Linked DNA regions of Homo sapiens: all the other regions are linked to region 4. Evidence: promoter capture Hi-C in 16 types of primary human blood cells and fetal thymus (Javierre and others, 2016). All regions are on one chromosome and are shown on one strand. The core of a region is centred on a gene start or on the middle of the fragment in contact, and the rest is flanking DNA. Distances in the headings are between cores, read along the strand shown. Region 1 overlaps RGMB-AS1 (RGMB antisense RNA 1). Region 2 overlaps CHD1 (chromodomain helicase DNA binding protein 1). Region 3 overlaps CHD1-DT (CHD1 divergent transcript). Region 4 holds the start of GIN1 (gypsy retrotransposon integrase 1). Region 5 has its middle 180 kb from the start of CHD1. Region 6 has its middle 93 kb from the start of CHD1. Region 7 overlaps CHD1 (chromodomain helicase DNA binding protein 1).

Evidence for each region. The method cuts DNA at HindIII sites, captures the fragments that hold promoters and counts their contacts. A CHiCAGO score of 5 or more calls a contact.
Region 1: a contact is called between a fragment that was not itself captured here and the fragment with the promoter of GIN1 in region 4, in 2 of 17 cell types (non-activated CD4 T cells and total B cells). The highest score is 8.3, in non-activated CD4 T cells.
Region 2: a fragment that was not itself captured here is called in contact with the fragment with the promoter of GIN1 in region 4 in 1 of 17 cell types (neutrophils); the score reaches 7.0 in neutrophils.
Region 3: a contact is called between a fragment that was not itself captured here and the fragment with the promoter of GIN1 in region 4, in 1 of 17 cell types (total CD4 T cells). The highest score is 6.7, in total CD4 T cells.
Region 5: a contact is called between a fragment that was not itself captured here and the fragment with the promoter of GIN1 in region 4, in 1 of 17 cell types (naive CD4 T cells). The highest score is 5.1, in naive CD4 T cells.
Region 6: a contact is called between a fragment that was not itself captured here and the fragment with the promoter of GIN1 in region 4, in 1 of 17 cell types (non-activated CD4 T cells). The highest score is 5.7, in non-activated CD4 T cells.
Region 7: a contact is called between a fragment that was not itself captured here and the fragment with the promoter of GIN1 in region 4, in 1 of 17 cell types (total CD4 T cells). The highest score is 6.7, in total CD4 T cells.

The regions. Positions count from the first base shown.
Region 1 is chr5:98,769,049-98,771,748 of GRCh38, forward strand. It overlaps RGMB-AS1 (RGMB antisense RNA 1), which reads right to left. Exons shown (of 2, transcript NR_033932.1): 2 at 570-2,136. It also overlaps a transcript of RGMB not described here. Among named protein-coding and RNA genes, the nearest start is that of RGMB-AS1, 2.7 kb to the right of the region's middle. RefSeq lists an enhancer at 1,313-1,813. The HindIII fragment of the contact is 279 bases long and covers 1,243-1,521 here.
Region 2 is chr5:98,878,384-98,881,083 of GRCh38, forward strand. It overlaps CHD1 (chromodomain helicase DNA binding protein 1), which reads right to left. Exons shown (of 36, transcript NM_001270.4): 22 at 2,693-2,700; 23 at 1,169-1,345. Among named protein-coding and RNA genes, the nearest start is that of CHD1-DT, 49 kb to the right of the region's middle. The HindIII fragment of the contact is 1,827 bases long and covers 538-2,364 here.
Region 3 is chr5:98,952,359-98,955,058 of GRCh38, forward strand. All of the region lies in intron 1 of CHD1-DT (CHD1 divergent transcript), which reads left to right. It also overlaps the pseudogene RPS9P3. Among named protein-coding and RNA genes, the nearest start is that of CHD1, 25 kb to the left of the region's middle. The HindIII fragment of the contact is 7,031 bases long and covers 1-2,700 here.
Region 4 is chr5:103,118,746-103,121,445 of GRCh38, forward strand. GIN1 (gypsy retrotransposon integrase 1) reads right to left here and starts at 1,393. Exons shown (of 8, transcript NM_017676.2): 1 at 1,319-1,393. It overlaps PPIP5K2 (diphosphoinositol pentakisphosphate kinase 2), which reads left to right and starts at 1,556. Exons shown (of 31, transcript NM_001276277.3): 1 at 1,556-1,743. RefSeq lists enhancers at 529-1,030, 1,031-1,531, 1,367-1,626, 1,657-1,846, 1,897-1,956. The HindIII fragment of the contact is 9,897 bases long and covers 1,351-2,700 here.
Region 5 is chr5:99,105,065-99,107,773 of GRCh38, forward strand. No RefSeq gene overlaps it. Among named protein-coding and RNA genes, the nearest start is that of CHD1, 180 kb to the left of the region's middle. The HindIII fragment of the contact is 4,510 bases long and covers 1-2,709 here.
Region 6 is chr5:99,020,651-99,023,350 of GRCh38, forward strand. No RefSeq gene overlaps it. Among named protein-coding and RNA genes, the nearest start is that of CHD1, 93 kb to the left of the region's middle. The HindIII fragment of the contact is 876 bases long and covers 883-1,758 here.
Region 7 is chr5:98,856,215-98,858,914 of GRCh38, forward strand. CHD1 (chromodomain helicase DNA binding protein 1) reads right to left here. Exons shown (of 36, transcript NM_001270.4): 35 at 1,966-2,176; 36 at 1-511. The coding sequence ends at 166. Among named protein-coding and RNA genes, the nearest start is that of CHD1-DT, 71 kb to the right of the region's middle. The HindIII fragment of the contact is 664 bases long and covers 971-1,634 here.

The DNA.
Region 1 (2,700 bases), core at 132-2,631, 4.3 Mb before region 4:
CGGCCCGGAGGGCGGCGCGGAGGGTGGCGCTGGCGGCGTGAAAGGCGTCTTTGTGCAAGATTGAGTGTGGTGGGGGGAAGGCGAAGAGAGAACTGATCCAGGACCTGGACGCGGGGGTCTGCGGCGCCCCTACGCCCCCACGCCCCCAGCCGTCCGCAGTGCCGGAATGAGCCGGATAGCGCCGGCAGGGGGCAGTGTGGCGATATAGGGGTTGCCGGGGGGAGAGGAGGGTCTCTGTTCACCTCTATTTGAGGCTGACTGGGGAGAAAGCTGCCTGGAGGAAGCTGCTGGGGTGCGGGGGGCTGAGGGATTTGGCTCCCCGCCCTCTCCCCTAGATGGCGGAGAAATCGGGCTAGCTGGAAGGGCGCAGCTCCTCTCCCAGAGCTCATTCTGGAGTCGGAGAACTGGGAGAGCGGCCCCCGAGGCGGAGCCTCCCTCCCGCCCCGAGTCGCGCTGCCCCCCACCTGGGGGAGAGGGGCGGGCGCCGCGCTGCCTTCCCTCCGCGCCTCGGCCGCGTGGCTTGCGGCTTATTTTCCCAGCTGGCAAGCGTCGCGCTGCAGACAAGGGAATGCCTGTGGTGAGTTGTTTATTTTGTTGAAGTTTGCGGTGGGCCCGGGGGACGTGGGGGGCGAGCGGCAGGCAGCGGCCGGGACTGTTTTGTTTAGGTCTCCATCCACCTGTGGGGTATAAATCTGCCAGCCTCAAGGCGGCGGGGGACCGGAGTGAGAAAGCTCTGACGCTCCCAAAAGCCCCTTTTCGCAACTTACAGATCTAGGACCACATTTGATTCTCCACGCCTGGAACCGGCTAGATCCTAGTTTACGCTCACCCCGCCCTCCAGCCTCCCATCAACGCTTCCCGCACCCGCTGTGTGCAGGGCTGGCGCTCCGCAGAGCAAACAGCGCCCACGACCCAGGGACAGCTGGCCACCGAAGTCCCTCCCCGGCGCCCTTCCCCGTTCCTTGAGGATAGGGGAGCTGAGGTTTTCATGTGAAGGGCGCCCATGAAATTCGTGGGAACTTGTTCTGGCGTCTTCTGGAGTGGAGTTCTTTCAGGGGTTTCGGGTCTGCCCGGGACTACAAAATGGGATCCTGGGTTGGCTGGAGTTTCCCAGACTAGGCTGGAGAGAGGTCGGCTGTTGGCTCGCGGGAGAGCCCAGAGGAACCCCTTGGGCGATGGCAGTCAAGACCGGCGGCTGCGTTTGCCTGGAAGAAAAGCCTAAATACATTAGCGAGCTGGTAAAGCTTTTAAGGCCTTCTTGGGAGCGAGTGGCTGGCTAATGAGAGGTTAATTTTGTTTCGAAGGGAAGGCTGCACTGGTTTCCTGAGATAAATGGACAGGAAGCGCATTACCTCCGCGCGCTGGCAAGCGGCTCCCAAATGCTTTTTGCACCTGCCGTTTTGAGCGGTGAGAGCAGCGGCGGAGCCCGCAGGGATTGCGGGGGCCCGTTGTCTACGAGCGGGTGATGAGCCCCCCGCAAGCCCCGGGCTCTCTCCCTCCGCGAGTGCATTGCTCACGCCAAGCTTTGGGACTCTTCTCTCACACCCAGGTCCTGCGTGTTCCGAAGTTCAGGGGCCCCCTGATCCCGCTGAGCCCCCTCCAGGAGCGAAAGGGTTAAGAATGATGTAAGTACAGGCACTTGATTTCTCAAGTCGCCCGCTTGGCCCTCTTCCAAGTTGTACTTTCCTTATTTTCTCTCCTTTCCTTTCCTTACTGTTCTAACGCTTTTTAATAAACTTTCACTCTTGCTCTGAAAAAAAAAATGATGTAAGTACAAACCACGAGCTGCTTGACGCTGAGCTGTTGGACTCCGGGCTATTTCAGCCGCTGCTTTGGGTACACAGTGGCCGGGGAGCAGCCGGGGAGCCCTTACTCTAGAAAGGATTGCACAAATCGCAAGCTTAGGTGATCTGTTAAGCAGTCAGAGATTCTCCTGTTAGATTTCTGGAAATGGAGACATATTAACTGGAGAACAGTTAAAAACATCACGTATAGGCTCAGGAAATGAAACTGCATCTTGTTTAGAATCCATTAGTGTTTCTGGCATGTGTTTTAATTCTGTCCACTTGCACGTTCATGCCGTAGTATGCTTTGCTGGATTCTCCGGATGTACTGTTCAGGTCTCCTCCTTCCTTTCTGAAAACAAAGAGAAAGGGAGAAAGAGTACCAGTGGCAAGAAACAGGGTGGATGTGTGAATTACACAAGTCATCAGCCACTTCATGATTTTTTTTCTGATTAAAACATAAAACTTTTATAAGTCACCGATTTTTTTGTTTGTGTTCTAGCTCCCTCCCCGATTTTTCTTTGTACAATATAAAGTCGTTTGTAACTTGCAGCTCACGGGCTTGAGGAGTGGCTGCGGTATAAGCGACTATTCACTACGCTCTTGCTTTCCAAGCCAATTCCTGATCTTGTGAACAGTACGAATTTACCCGCGAGTGTGTCAACTGACCTATGTCTTGAAAATAGGAACCACCTTGCGGTTTACTTGTGAAAATTAGCATTTTCCTCTAGCGGCTGAACACTTATGCAGCAATAAAAAGTGAATTGTTAGGCTTATAAATCTCGAGCTTGTCAAATTTTACAACAGAGGAGCAATAAAGCACCTTATAGAGATGAAGTTTTTCCTCTGAAGAACAGTTCCGTTTAACGACACCAGGATTTGCAATGACTCGAGGACGCCCTCTATTGATAGGAAA
Region 2 (2,700 bases), core at 201-2,700, 4.2 Mb before region 4:
TGGTAGCAGGGCAGGGACTAGAGTGGGGCAAGCCCCTCATTTGCCCCAGGCTTAAAATTTAAGGAAGCACGAAAAAACTCAGCAATCAAGACAAAAAATCTTATATCCTAAAAACCAAAGGATACTAGAAAAAGAAATTAGTCTTAGAATTTTTTTCCTTTTTGGCAATATAGCTTGGCATGGCACTATTACAGTTATTCAAAATTTTGGTATTTGTTTACTTAGGCCACTGAATAAACACCAACAAATTTTTAAAAATTAAAATTACATAAAATATGCTTTCTGAACATGACAGAATTAAACTACCAATGATTAACAAACATAGTTGAAAAATTTCCTAAATATCTGAACATTTTAAAACATACTTCTAAAAAAACCTGTGGGTCAAAGATAAGTCATATGGGAAATTTTAAAATGTTTTTAAATTAAGGAAAATATAAAAATAGATTTGGAAGATTCAGAAAAAGTAACGCTTAAAGAAAAATTTGTAGCATTAAATGCCGATATTAGAAAAGAGAGATTACATTTCTATATCTAAGCTTGCACCTTAAGAAACTGAATAAAAGAGGCCAGGTGCAGTGGCTCGTGCTATAGTCCCAACATTTTGGTAGGCCAAGGCAGATGGATCACTTAAGCCCAGAAGTTCCAGACCAGCCTGGACAACATGGTAAAACTCCATCTCTACAAAAAGAATACAAAAATCAGCTGGGTGTGGTGGGACACACCTGTAGTCCCAGCTATTTGGGAGGCTGAAGTGGGAGGATCATCTGAGGCCGGGAGGTTAAGGTTGCAGTGAGCCAGAATTGTGCCACTGCACTCCAGCCTTGGCAATAGAGCAAGATGCTGTCACCAAAGAAAAAAGAAAAGAAAAGAAAGAAAACAGCAAATTAAATCAAAAGCAGAAAGGAAGAAATAATAAATTGTGGAAACTCATGAAATTAAAAACACACACACACACAAAAATCAATGAAACCAGGAGCAGGTTCTTTGAAAAGATGAATAAAAGAGGAAGAAACACTTCTCAACTCATTTCATGAGGCAAACATTATCAAATCAAGGCCATTACAAGAAAAGAAAACTATGGACTGATACCTCGTAGAAACAAACAAAATCAGCCCAGGTTGAATACTCTTACTTTATAGAAATATCTTTAAAATTGCAAAATCACCTGTTTTGCACAATTTCTCATTCTTGGGAGCATATAAATTTCTTCAAGTTCCTTTTGTCTTTCTTCTTCTTCTAATCGTCTTCTTTGATCTTCTGGAATAATTTCCTCCCAATTCTTTGAATTTCTTTCAGGTTCCAACTCAATGTCATCCTCATCCATATTTGAGAAGTTGGCAACCTGATAAATTTCAGAATTTTAAGAGTAACTGTTACAGAAAAATTGATCCCTAAAAGTTTTTTTTAAGGGGAAGAACTGGCATGCTCCTTAGGATAATGAACATGGCTGTGGACTAAACCAAATATAACTTCTAAACAACCTAGATTCATTTCTTCATTAGGGCAAAGCAGATCAAACCAAATGACATCTAATAATCCTCTAGGAATGATTTTATTTTGCCCTACTGCTCAACAAAATTAGTAGCATCACAGAACTAAGAGCAGTTAACAGAACAACAAAAAAGTAATTTATACTATTAACATGCTAAATAATCTGCAGAAATTCTCAGACCAGTCCACCTATCAAGTATTGTAGAACAATCTAATATCATTTTTATGGTCACAAAAACACTATCTAAAGAGCTACTGGCAGAGACATAGAGCTCTTTGAGAGCACACTAATTTCTGTGAGGATTACATAAGATAGCACATTTAAGGTACTATGCAAGGTCTGGTATACAGAAAGCACCCATTAAGGCTAACTATCACAGCCGGGCGAAGTGGCTCACGCCTGTGATTCCAGAAACCTTCACCTCTTAACCAGGATTACTCAACATTCTGTCTTATCTCCCCCTGCTATAGCTCTTTCCTCACTACAGTCAATCAACCACAAAGTAGTCAGAATGATTCATTAAAATTATAAAAGTTTTTTATTCACTGTGTGGGGTACACTGTAGGTGTTCCATAAATATTTGTCAAATGAACACATGAAATGAATTGATCTTTAAAAACCACAGTTCAGAGAAAACAGCTAAGATGTAGAGAAACCTGTTTCTTCAAACAAATGGCACTTAACTTACTCCATGAGGTCAGTTGACTTACGTTGTTTTAGGACTCCTTTCAACTCATTGACCCTCAACAAACCAGGGATATTAAGTATCAATATATAGTAGCTTATTGCTTACTTTGACTGATTTACTTGAGTTTTCTTATTTGTGATAAGTTAATGTCAAAAACTGCTTCAAAAAAATATCAGCTGAAAGCTTTCAGTCATGGAAATCTAAGTAAGAGATCACACTGATTCATTTATTTACCTAAGTATTTAAGGACATGCTATTTGCCAAACACTATTCTAGTTGCTAATTAGGAAACAACAGCTCTTTCCACCCAACTAAATGTAACTTCATAAATGGGTTTGGTCTCTTTCAAATCAGTTTGCTACTGGTTTGTCTGAACAAGAGAGAGTAGTTTTTACATAACACAGCAATCTTCCTGATTATGCTTAAAGAAAGATTAACAAACCACTAAATGACATAACTCAATTCCTCTCAATTTATGTAATTACAAGGAAAATTTTGTTTAAATCTACCTTGAACT
Region 3 (2,700 bases), core at 45-2,544, 4.2 Mb before region 4:
CAAACTTATTGGGAAACTAAATAGTCCCAAGACTTCAGGAGAATAAAATAATCCCAGTGACCTTTTATGCTGTTGTGGTGTGAATATCGCACCCCGAATTAATATTTGAAATTTATTAGCCAATGTGGTAATATAAAATGTGGGGCTGTTCGAAGGTGATTAAGGCCATAAAAGGGGTTACGGAAGTGGATTTTCTCTCTCCCACTCTTTTGCCATGCAAGGACACAGCATCCATTCCCTTTTTTACCTTTCTGCCTTCTGCCATGTGAGAAGGCCCTCACCAGACATCAAATGCCAGTGCCTTGATCTCAGACTTTCCAGCCTTCAGAACTGTGAGGAATAAATTTCTATTTTGTATAAATTACCCAGTCTGTGTTATTTTGTTACAGCAACACAAATGGACTAAGACATATACCATTAGCACTTTTGGAACATGATTTACTTTACTGGCACGGTACATATATAAAATAAACTCTTTTATCCTTTTGAAAATCAATAAATATGCATTGAATGCCTATGTGTTTATGTAGGTGTACACAGGCTATAATAGGAGAGCTCTAAGATATTTAAACATTTATTCTCACATCATTAGTTACTTGATAGAGAGTATAAAGGGCAGAAAGACTTGAAGTAGTGGGAGCATAGCCACTGCTGATTAAAGACAAAAAATAAGAAAGTAGACAATTATTTGTCAGTTAAAAGTAAAATAAAATTTTAAAAAATTAAGAAAATATATATGTGAAGTTCTATGTCCTTAAAAGGTCAGCTTACATGTAACTTTTCTGGAACAAATATATTTACTGAAGTTATATATATATATTTATATATATAAATATTTACTGAATTATATATATATTTACTGAACATATATATTTACTGAACAAATATATTTACTGAAGTAATATAATATATATATTATATTATATATATAAAGGTATACTTTAATTTAGCACTACTGATATATGAAATTCCACATTTATAAAGTATACAAACTGTATTAGGGTTCTCTAGAGAGACAGAACTAATAGGATATATATATGGGAATTTATTAAGTATTAACTCACATGATCACAAGGTCCCACAATAGGCCATCTGCAGGCTGAGGATCAAGGAGATGCAGTCCGAGTCCCAAAACTGAAGAACGTGGAGTCCCATGTTCGAGGGCAGGAAAGATCCAGCATGGGAGAAAGATGTAGGCTGGGAGGGTAGCCAGTCTCGTCTTTTCACATTTTTCTTTCTGCTTTTTTATTCTAGTCCCACTGGCAGCCGATTAGATGGTGCCCACCCAGATTAAGAATGGGTCTGCCTTTCCCAGCCCCGGGACTCAAATGTTAATCTCCTTTGGCAACACCCTCACAGACACACACAGGATCAATACTTTGTATCCTTCAACCCAATCAAGTTGACACTCAGTATTAACTATCACACAAACTGAAGTGGATCATTTGGCTTTCCAAATGGTTATGCTGTGAGATTAATCATGTATTTCACAAATTGAACACCAGTAATATTCAAAAATATTTTGCAACCAAACACACTTTATGACATCATTAAATGATTCTTTAATTTCACAAAGAAAACACAAATTCAGCACCCCCAAAATGAAAATTATGTATACAATAAAGCATAATGTAAATGTTATATAATGATATGACATATAACTTTATTAATACTGAGTTACACCATGTTGTGTAGTGAGTACTAGAATATGTATTTGAATACAATACTTAGCTAAGCATCTTTATTTCTTGACATACTTTGACTTTAGACATTTTATTTTATTATATTTTTTTTAAGACACAGGACCTCACTCTGTCCCCCAGGCTGGAGTGCAGTGGTATGATCATAGCTTACTGCAGCCTTGAACTCCTGGGCTCAAGCAATCTTTCTGCCTTGGCCTCCCAAAGGGATTACAGGCTGAACCACCGCATGTGGTGTATTTTATTTTTTTAAATATATTTTTCTAGCCCCTTTCGCAGTAACCGGGACCTACCCTTAGGTGAGGCACAGATGGACACGCAGAGTCAACACACTAGTGGTCCCAAGCTGGGTCGGAAAACCTGTGTGATCACAGGGAGACCCTTTGAGAAGTCCCCCTTCAACCAAGAGCTAAAACTGATAGGCAAGTATGGCCTCCAGAGCAAACGTGACATCTGAAGGGTTAAATTTACCCTGGACAAGATCTGCAGGGCTGCCCAGGAGCTGCTGATGCTTGTTGAGAAGGACCCATGGCATCTGTTTGAAGGCAGTGCCCTGCTGTGGTGACTTATTCACATCAGAGTGCGGTACAGGGGCAGAATGAAACTAGATTGCATCCTAGGCCTGAAGATTGAGGCTTTCTTGCAGAGATGACTGCAGACCCAGCTCTTCAAGCCAGGAGTGACCAAGTCCAGTCATCATGCCCCTGTGCTGATCCACTAGCACCATATCTAGGTCTGCAGGTGGTGAACATCCTGTCTGTCCTTCATTGACTGCCTGGACTCCCAGAAGCACGGCAATTTCTCTCTTTGTTCTTTGTTTGGCAGTGGTCGCCTGGGCCTCCTGAAGAGAAGAATTCCAAGAAGGGCCAGGGTGGGGCTGGAGTGCCCCTGGAGATAACCAAGAGGAGGGTTAAGCACACCCATCCCCTCCTGGGGTGGTGGATTGTCTAGTTTTCCAGTCAGATAATGGGATCAACACTTTGAAAACAAGGATTCTAGG
Region 4 (2,700 bases), core at 143-2,642:
GTTGTTTTTTTTTTTTCAAAGCCCATACATATGAGAAAATGGCTTGAAACTGTAATATTCGAGACAAATATAAATATCTTCTTATACTCTGATTGCTAAGTAAAGGTATCATTTACAAGGGGGATTAAGTGGTTTCTACTACATAAAGAAAGACTGTCCTGGGACTTCTTTGGATATGCTCATATTTTCAAGAATTTCTCTTAAAATCATTACTTAATGTACTTAAACATGTAGGAATAAGAAAAAATGAAAGTGATTGATTACAACTTGTAGTTTTGCAAGAGGAATGTCAGGGTCACATTTGGTTAAGCTTTATACACTTTGTCCCCTCCATAAAAGCAAATAAAATCAACTCATTGCTTAATTCCTTTAATAATTTTGTGTTCAATAAAGTAAGGCAGTTAGGTATTATGTCAAGATTAGGACTTAACTGTTTCACCAAGGGTTAAAAACAAAGCCACCAATTTAAGCCCCTAAAAGGTTATAATACCCGCTGGTTCCATCTTAAAATCTGCAATTTTCAATCAACATGTTAACTTGGATCGGAATTCTGACATTTGAATTATTCTATTTTAAGCTCCAAAAAATGGACACGCACAATTTTATGCAACGTCAAGGACCTGTAAATTTAAATACACTTCTCTGTAATCTGGTTCACTTCAGAGTACAAATTCATTGAACAAAAAAATGCCTTCATCGCCATATGCATTCACATGAAGCCACATGGGATAAATGCATTTCCACTTTAAAAAGTATCTACTTTGGTTCAGAAATGCCCATTTAAGAAAAACCTACACTGAGATAAAGTGGACATTTTTCTTTTAAAACTACGTGACAGGATTCCCTCTTGACCTCACGTTTCTCCCCGCCACGTATTTAAATTTGGGGCAAAATTTCTGATTAAATGACTGATCAAAGTAATGGGGAGAATTCTTCAACGCCGGCCAAAAGTGCTTAGTCTCAAACGCTGTGAGGGAGCATTTCCTAAGCTTTGGGCGACTCGTTAACGGAATCTTAAGGGCAAGGTCCAACCACACTCAGAATCAGCAGGAAAATGACCGTTTGGTAAAACTCAATTACACCCAGTAGGCACCTCCCCAGGCCCGAAACAGCACTCGCCCTTTCTGCTCAGCTAGCGCGGGACATCGCAACGCCCAAGGCCCTCCTATCTCAAAGGCGCTTGCGCAAAATCTCCCCACAGACTCAATTAAACCCTTCCTTAGGCCGGTCGAGGCGAATGGTTTTGAAATTACTGTCGGGTTACGCCTCACTTTAAAAAACAGTAGGTATGACACAGCACACCAGAACGACCACTCACCGAGGTGGTCCTAAATTCAAACGACAGATTTAAGCTTCCTCTCGTGATTTATCTCGCGCTGCCGGAAGCGGAACTACCCGGGTCCTTTAGAGGGCAGTCCTTTGGGGAACCTTGGAACCACGGTCAGAAAGGTTAGGACTGATCATTTGGCTCTTGCCGGAAATCGTTCCGCCCGGTGAGGTTTCGGCGTGAGACCCGAGGAGGGCGGGGAAGAGGCGTGACGGAGATTCCTGAGGTGTAGTAGCCTGAGGTTCCCTTATGTGGCCCTATAGCTGTTACTGAAGGAAGTAGCCTACGTCCACGCCTACAACTGAAGTCTCTTGACAAACACCTCACCCCTGCCTCCGGGATGAAAGGGGGTAACCTAGACCTGAATGGGCTTGACCATCTCACAACTGCTCGCGTGACGACCGCATTCGTGGCAGGTGAGGGCCCAAAACCGGAGGAGAACCGGAGATGCGGAACCTGATCATGCCAGGGTTGAGGCGGCTGCTGGGCTTCTGCTTTGTCTCCTGTGCTCTGCAGACCCTAAACACATGCTCCACCGAGGGGCTTGTGCTGGAGAGAATGACAGCCTGGGCGTGGAGTGACAGTACAGCTTTGAGGGTCCTTTCGCGCCTTGATTTCTCCTCCTGCTCCCCCATGGCTTCCCTTTTTCATTTCTTGGGTTCGAGACGCCAGAAATTGAAGATCAGCTAAAAGGGAACCGCTGAGCTTCTACCCCACGCTGTGCCTGGCTCCACTGAAGTGATTAGCCTCGAGTTATGGGACTGCTGTGGGTAGAGGTGGCTTTTTAAAAAATTTTCTGCCTTAGTCTTTATCCCTCTCTCTGTCAACCCCACACCCACTTTAAAATAACAAAAGCCTCATGTGTTGCAGCTTTTCATAGTAGGGACCGAGGCTGCAGGGCACTGCCGCACCTAGTCATTTGGAGGTCGTTGCAGCCTTCTGCGCCTTGAAGAAGAAGGGGCCAGGGTGATGATCCCTGGATCTCATTCACGAGGTTCTTGACCACTTCCTGGGAGATTGCGACTCTTGGTGTCCTTTGGCTAGTAGTTGTCTTGCTGGAAGGCTTAACTGTGGAAGTGGGAAGCATAGCTGACCTTAGCACGTAAAATCCTCGCTCTACACTGGGACAGGATTTTGTTTTGCTATTGAGAATTCTTAAATGAAATAGATAATTTTTTTGTCTCAGATAGATAAAATAATAACGATAGTTGCCATTAACTGAGTCTTATGTGTGCCGAGTGCTTTACATAGTTTGTCATTTATTCCTCTCAACAATTCCAGGAGGTATGTTAGATTATTATCACCATTTTACAGAGTTAGAAATGGAGGCTTTGAACAGTCAAGCAACTTGCTCTATTAAACATTTGTTATAA
Region 5 (2,709 bases), core at 111-2,610, 4.0 Mb before region 4:
GGAGAAGACAAAGCCATTATATATGGGTCTCATTTCTGTTCCTTTCTCAGTTTGAACTATTGTTTTACTTCTAGGAGAAAAATAAAATGAAAGGATTCATATAGGACATTCTTTAGGCAAAAATCCTAAATACTGTGTTTTTTCATTAAAATTTTAAAAAGGATTTAATAGAATCAGAAATAGAAATAACTAATGAGGTTGTTGCTATCTGAGATACTTAGAAAATATTTCTGAGTTGCCAATCTTTCTCCTCCTGTTTCTTTTTGTCTTAACACTGAGACAGCATTGAAACTTCTCTTAAAAGGAAATACTCATTGGATGACCGCCAGAGAAACTTGAGCGTCTCTCTTGATAGAGCTTACTAGTTTACTGGTGTTGTGTTAGGGTTAATTGGCAATATGTGCAAGATATAAAAAACCCAATATTTCGTCAAACAAAGAAGTAAACATTTAAGACAATGGCCAAAGCTCAATCTCTTTGGGTCTTAGCTTCCCAATCTAAGTAATACTTTGAGGTTATTGTGTTTGTGGAGGAATGTGTTAGGCAGGGCAGGCCAAGGGATATAATTTAATGACCTGACATAGATGTATATACTAGGAAGATTAACTAGACATCATCTCATGGCCAAAAGTAAATATAATGGAAATTAGATAACAAGGAAGGAAAGATTCTGAGTAAAGATGAGATAAATAATCTCAAAGTAAAAGAAAAAGGAAGGCTCATCTAGGCAATTGTCTTCTCATTCTTTTCAATTCTTCTTGAGGTTGTTTGCCTTTTTTTCTTCCTAATATTATCTTCTGTCTCTCTTTCTCTTTGGTGGTGGCAGGCTGCCTTGAAAATTAGAGAGTCTTTAGAATTCAAACACAGACAAACCAATAATGGGAATGTGGGAGACATTCTTGGCCTTTCTTAAAGGTAGATCTGGGACACTCTAAACATTTATATAAAAGCTAAGCAGCTTTTTAAGGTTTTTTTTAAGAAAGTGGTCAGAGAATTGGTGGGTAGCACTTAATTAAATTCATGATAGCTTTTAGAGCAAGTGAACATCTTTGGAAAAGGACTTGTTTATCTTACTTCCCTTCGTACCTTACCCAGCAAGAATGAACTGAGTGAGAAAGACCTATAATAGTGGAGATAAAGAATAACCAAAAGGAACTCTGTTGTTATCTATAATCTGCTTGCTTGAGTGTGCCTATTTTCTTTCTAAAAAACAGGCTTTCAGATAGTGCTAAATGATATGAGTAACTAATTTTCACTTACAGCAAGATATAATATGCACAGGTATGCATGAATGTCTTCAGGGCTAGTTATCACAGGCTTTGGTTTTACATAAAGATGTTTGGGGTATGTGCAGTGTTTTATTAATTCTAAAGTTGCGTGTTCACAGCACAGTATCTTTCCAGTGTATTAAATATGTTTTTCAGGTATATCTAATTTATTAATTTATTTCTTTTTTGGTCATAAAGCTCTGCATTTGCTACTATTTATTTGAGGCATTCTATTATGCCCAAGATTTCAATGAACATTATTTAGACCTCTGGATAGTAATAAATGTGTCTAAGTATATTTGTTGCCAAAGTGAAAACTATAATAGGATAAAATTATTATATAACATATTGCAAATAAACACATTTGTTTTATATGCAAATTAGATCTTGTTATATACTATATAACCATATTATAAAACACTTAAAATAACATTTCATTAGATTTGGAAGTGCTGCTGCATTATTTTGCAGTTATCCTCATGTGTATTCTTAAATTCTCTCCATATAGGAGATAAATCTAGAAATTTAATGATTTACATTGGGGGATTACACTTTTTTCTAGTCTGGTTTGGTGTTTTTCTGTGGCTTGGTAAAGTTGAAGGGGTTGGATTTTACTGTCCTCATTGCCCTCTCTTTAAGCAAAAATATGGATTAAACAAATTTCATCCTTTACTTGCTAAGTAAACTTAAGTAATATAGTTCAGACTACCCAGTTATAGATAAAATCTGAGGCATTCATTGCTCAAGAGTCATGGATGCTCCTTCTTTTCTTCTGTATTTCTTAATTAGAGGGGTTTCTAATCTAACATGGCATCTACTATTTTTCATTAATGTAAAAGAGATGCCAGAGGGAGCTGACCAGTGTCCCTAAAGACTGCCATTGAAAACACACTAAACATTGGCCAGAGTGTGACAGGAGCCACTTGTATCTCCTTCCTTACACATCTAAATGTTGCAAGACATGCTCAATAACTGAGTATTAGTTGTAAGAATACTGAGAGATGGGATTAGAAGCGTTATTTTCTTTTAGTCCTTAAAAATATATCCATGGACTACGGCCATTTGTTTTCATGTATTTCAGTCATTTTGTCCTCAATTTACTCCTGTTTAGTTCCTAGGTTATGAGTTACTCATAATGCCCCAATTTTTCTATTATTAGATTTTAGTCTTGCACATCGAATATTTCCATCATGACCACTTCTTTTTTATAGAGAAATTGCCAGGTTTCTCAGGGTAAATAATGGAGGAGAAAAGTTGAAGGGCAAAGGATATAGAGAGAAAGCTAACAGACAACTTTTTCCCCAAGGCCACCAAACTGGCAAAGAGATGGACTGGTTCCTAAGTTCCCACATTAGGGTTGGACCTTGGTGTTCCAAAGAGAATGTGATTGATGGTGTTAAGAAAACTTGATCTTCTAGTTATATTAAAAATAGAAATAAAT
Region 6 (2,700 bases), core at 71-2,570, 4.1 Mb before region 4:
GGATCACTTGAGCCCAGGAGTTCCAGGCAGCAGTGAGCTATGATCATGCCACTCCACTCCAGTCTGCATGACAGAATGAGACCCTGTTTCTATAAAGAAAAACAAAGACAAAACAAAAACTCTATCAGTGCAAATCCAACCTAATTACTTAATTATATTTCCAAAGTTTGAATTCTGGAGGCAAGCACACACTTGACAGGGCAAGGTACAGAGCTTTTATAGAGGCTTGACCCTTCTCCCACATGAAATAATCAGGATTCCTGCTCTCTGCATTCATCTCTGAAGCAGTCACAGGAAGGGGACTTTGGAAAGTCAACTAGTTTTATAACTAAATCTCATTTAGATGTAGTACTTTATATATTTTTAGTGACTGGAAATACCTTATTTTTGTCTAAAAAATTTCAGAGTATTATTATTAAGTGTTTAGAAACAGGGTCTTGCTATGTTGTCAAAACTGTATTCGAACTCCTGGTCTCAAGCAATCCTTCCTCCTCAGCCCCCCAGATAGGTGGGATTACAGGTGCATGGCACGACACTCTGCTAAACATTTCAGATTTATTAGACAAGTTACAAAATATTGAGAGAAAAATACAATAAGCAAATTTTCTGATTGTGATTAATTGCTGAGATCTTATATAAGCAGGAAAACTGCTTCATATATCTCTATTCTTTGCAATGGTAATTATTTCCCTGTAGCTAAGTTTATTACAAGAAAGGAAGACGTATTCAGATACATATTTATTTGGCTGTCTGTCAGTAGGGGAAGAAGGTAAATCTGTATGAATGATGATTTAGTCTAACTTTCATATCTGCTTTCAAATTTTAATTGAACCTGAATCTAACTGTCCTCCCTCACCTCCTCCATCCTTCCCTTCAACTGAAAGCTTGAGGATAATAAATATAACTCTCTTTGTACTCCAAAGAGATAATTTCAAATTCATGGAGAAAATGGGTTAAATGGCAGGTCAGCATGGAAGAGATTAGTACATGGCTAATACCCTATGATGGTGGGACTCAGATCCAGACCAGATGTATTTCTATAAGTAATTGTGTAGAAAAAAGTCTCAGAGACGTTTTAATAGTTGGGTTCATTTATGGCAATTTAATTATTCTCTAGGTTGGCCTGGTTAATCTAGGAGCAAATCTCTTATATGGTTCAATCTAGAGTAGATCTAATCACCCTTTATTTAAAAACTATTTCTTTTATTTTTTAGTAGAGATGAGGTCTTGCTATGTTGCCCAGGCTGCTCACTCCTAGCCCAAATGATCCTCCCTCCTCAGCCTCCCAAAGTGCTGGGATTACAGGCATGAGGCACCACACCTGGCTTTCTAATCTACTCTTAAATAGCAGGATTTGCAGAACTTTCCCTCTTAAGTAGCATACTAAATGTTATTAAGAAAATAAAATCTAAAGTGGTGTTTTTTTCCCCACTGTGAATTGAAAAGGGAAGAGTAAAGCATCTCCTTTCCCCAAACAAGAGAGGAGTGGCCAGCAATTTGTTTTTAAAGGCCTGAGTTAGAACTTCTCTTTCCGCGTCTGGTTAGACAGGAGAAAAGTAAACTGGATTATCTCAGAGGAAGAAAGCACCAAAACTGGATTTTGGAGTTGAACAGATAAATGTGGCTTATCTCCACCAGGTAGCTTCCCAGTGGTGTGGTGACTGAGGGTGCACATTACCCCTTGTGGAGCCAAGGGTGTAGGAGGAAGGACTCTTCCAGAAAGTGCATGGATGCTGTAGCTTTGAGAATCATGGTGAAAGCTTCCAGTGCTCATAATTGCCATGAAGGAAATGGGCTGCTGGTCTTCTATGAACATCACAGGTTTAGAAGATGATAAAGCACAGACTAGAGTCCTTCTCCAAGTTATCAGGGCAGCATTCATCCACCCCAGGGAGACCCTTCTCTCTTGCCTCCCCATGATAACTAATATCTGCTGTTTTTAATTCCATAGTGAGTGTGGGCATAACTCCAAATTTAATTTGATATAAGGAAATAAAGGAATGTGATGCTTTCTGTACCTGAATATATAGAAGGTATTTGCTTTCTAGAAGGTCAGGGCCAAGGTTATTGCTAAAATTAGATTCACAACCAGAGTCATCCTCAAGATTCTCAAAATGTTACTCTGGCATGTTTGTGCCAGAGACATAAAGTTATTCAATGTTGTATTAAGTTTGTGGATATAACCCGATAAATTCCAGGAGGATGGGTGACCAGAAGAGCCTTAAATTTGTTACTCATGAACTATGTTAACATATCTTTCTTTCATATTCACTCAATATTCTGTCTATCTATTCTACTTCTTGTTTCATTTGTTTTCTCTTTTATTATTAATTTATCTTCAGCCTGGCTGAAAATTCAAATATCTGAAGCCAGTAAGGTAATATAGATTAGTAAATGGGGCTGCATTGGAAAATGATGAATAGCAACTGGCTCTTGGCTTCAGTGTCAGGGATGAATATGAGATTGTGTGTGTGTGTGGAGGAAGGACAATATTGACTGCATATACCTTGCCTAAGGAAAGTAGTCACTATTCAGCTGTGGAAAGTGGATCCAGAGTTGATACATTTCAGATTTTTCAAGAGAAGTTGGAAATCCTTTTCTTTAAAAAATGAAATACTCTGTATTTAAAATATTGTCAATTCAAATAAAAACTGTAGAAACACTGTATTCCACCTACAGACTGGATAAATTCAAATGGTG
Region 7 (2,700 bases), core at 53-2,552, 4.3 Mb before region 4:
TTCTCTTCTGTTGGGATAATAGACCTTGCATCCTGGAAAGAAGTAACAATACTGCTACTGATAGAAGATCTGTTTATATCTTTCAAGTCATGTAAGGCAATTACTGTGTTGGTTTATGATATATGGCTAAAAGAAAAGTCCAGAAAGACGAAGTATCAGTTTTTGTTATGTTTTCCGACTACTCCAGGTATGCTCCGGTGTACTTTTGTGTTCAACTGAATGTTCAAATGGAGATCTGGAGCCATAAGGAGATCTCTGATCTAGTGGTGACCTAGGGCCACTGCTGGAAGCTCTGTGGTCCATTTGCCAGTCTGAGTGATACCTATAATCCCTGGAAGATTTATGGTGCGTATATTCAGAACTTGACCGGTGGTCTGAATGTAACCGATGATCTGAGTGAGAACGATGATCAGAATGAGATCTATCTTTTAAACTTCCTTCCAAATTTGACCTGTGATCTCTACTCCTGTGATCATCCAGTTTTCTGTGTTTCTCTCTGTCACTGTAATATCTAATAAAGAAAAATTGAGAATTTTAGACAAATCATGCAAATTAAAATGTTTCCAAATAAAAGATAACTAAAAAACATAAAAATACCTTAAAACATGTTTTTAATTGTATAGAAATTCAGTGTTGCATTATAAAACTTACTTAATTAACTCAAAAATCACTGGATATATCTCTTTGGAAAAACTATTTGATTCATAAAACTAAAGCGAACCATACAAAACCCCTAAAATAGCATCTAATTTCACATGGCTATTTTAGATAATTAGCTGCTTTTTATTTTACACATCATTTATATGACTGCATCTTAATTGTCTGGAAGCTGAAATTAAGATTATTACAACTATCTGAAATACTCCTGAGACCAGAGCCTTTTACCAACCTCTAAGCAGGAAAAAGTTTAAAAATGCTAGAATGCAGTCTATGCTGAAAAATTTTTCACTGGTTGCTGATGCCTATTAAAAGCTTCCTCAAGTTTGACTAGTTATATAGTAAGACTCGACACATGAATCATTACGAAATTTACTCCATACAAACATGTGACAGCTTGATAAAAAATAAATGTGGCAGTTTAATGAGAATTATTCTCTAAAATGAGTGCCTTTTCCAAACTGACACACACACAACTGTAACTATATTGCATAAGCCTGTGAAATATATACTATAAATCTGCCTTTTCCTTTTAATTATTTGACCCCTTCAAATAACAGCCATTCTACAACTGATGTGTTCATAGTGCTGACAGAGGTTCTCAAAGAAATTATTGTAATGAACACTAAAATACAAAGATGTCTTCTAATTTGTTTCTTCTACTTACTATAAAAGCATAAATACTATAAATCTCAGTTTTCAAGTTTACTTTTAGTAGTGATCATTAACTACCGAAAATACTTCTTTATCAATAAAGGAATAAAAAGTATTCTGATGTTATTACACTGAGGTTGCTTACTGTTCAAAGGCTTCAAAAAACAATAAACAAAAAACCTTCCTGGTTCCAATAATATTCCAGATTGCTGAGGTTAAGTTTTACCTCAATGAGATGTGTTCACATATATTAATTTTTCCCGACTTTTTAAAAATATGGAATGCAAAATTTCCTAAACCAAACCTGAATCACTATTATATCAAGCTTTTATCCCACTTATTATATTTTAAAGAGTATTTGAGCCAATATTCTTCAAAACGAACAATGAACCCCACGCAATTTATAATCATACAACTCCCTACATCACCTTACTACATATTTTGATCTCAATTTTATAATTCAAAATCCATTTTATAGAGAAATTCAGTTCTTAAAATATATACATTTTTCTTAATTATATACAACACCTTTATTTCACAAGATTTGTTTTGACTGCATGAAGATTGAATTGGCTGACAGGTCAAATACAGGAACATCATGATAAGGAGAAAAACATGCATAAGCAAAATTTCTAAAGTGACTGCCAAGTTTACCTGCTGTCTTGCTTGTAGTGATCCCAATCACGATGGTCTTTACCATTACTAAAAGAAGAATAGGGTCTTTTCCTGGAATCACTTTTTTTGTAAGAATCTCCCTGATGTCGGTCTTTATGATGATCATGGTACTGAGTTAAGTGTCTATCAGAGGAATAACTGTCCCTGCTGCTATCATCGTGATTTGTATTCTCTTTTAATCTTTCCACATCTGTTAGATAAGTACAACTTTTATTAATGACCTTAAAAATAATGTGGCAAAAAAAACTTAGTTGATAGATAACAAGAATTCGTTTCAACCCTTGCCAAAACAAAATCGGTTCCCAAATACAAGCAGTTAAAGCATTTAGAAATGGTGTATAAAAGCAGTACTAAGGATTAATTAAAAAAGGTTGCTTGATTCTGAAATGTCACAAAAACTAAAAAATATGGGACCTATTCCTTTCTCAGACTATACTTTTGTGACTCTGATACAGAAAGAATGCATTACTATTCCAAATTACATAAAAAAGAATATTTGTTCATTTTAACAGTCATTCTACAATTTCTAGAAACTGAGAAAAGGATGATTAAAAGGATAATAAACTAAAATGAACTACAGTTTAAGAGAATACATTTTACATAATAATGTAGGTATGTATCAGAATTACTGTATCTCCTTAATATAAAGGTACTTATAAATAAAAACAAGGTAAGAACCTTTTTTATCATTTGGTTTATTTAAAACAAAAATTT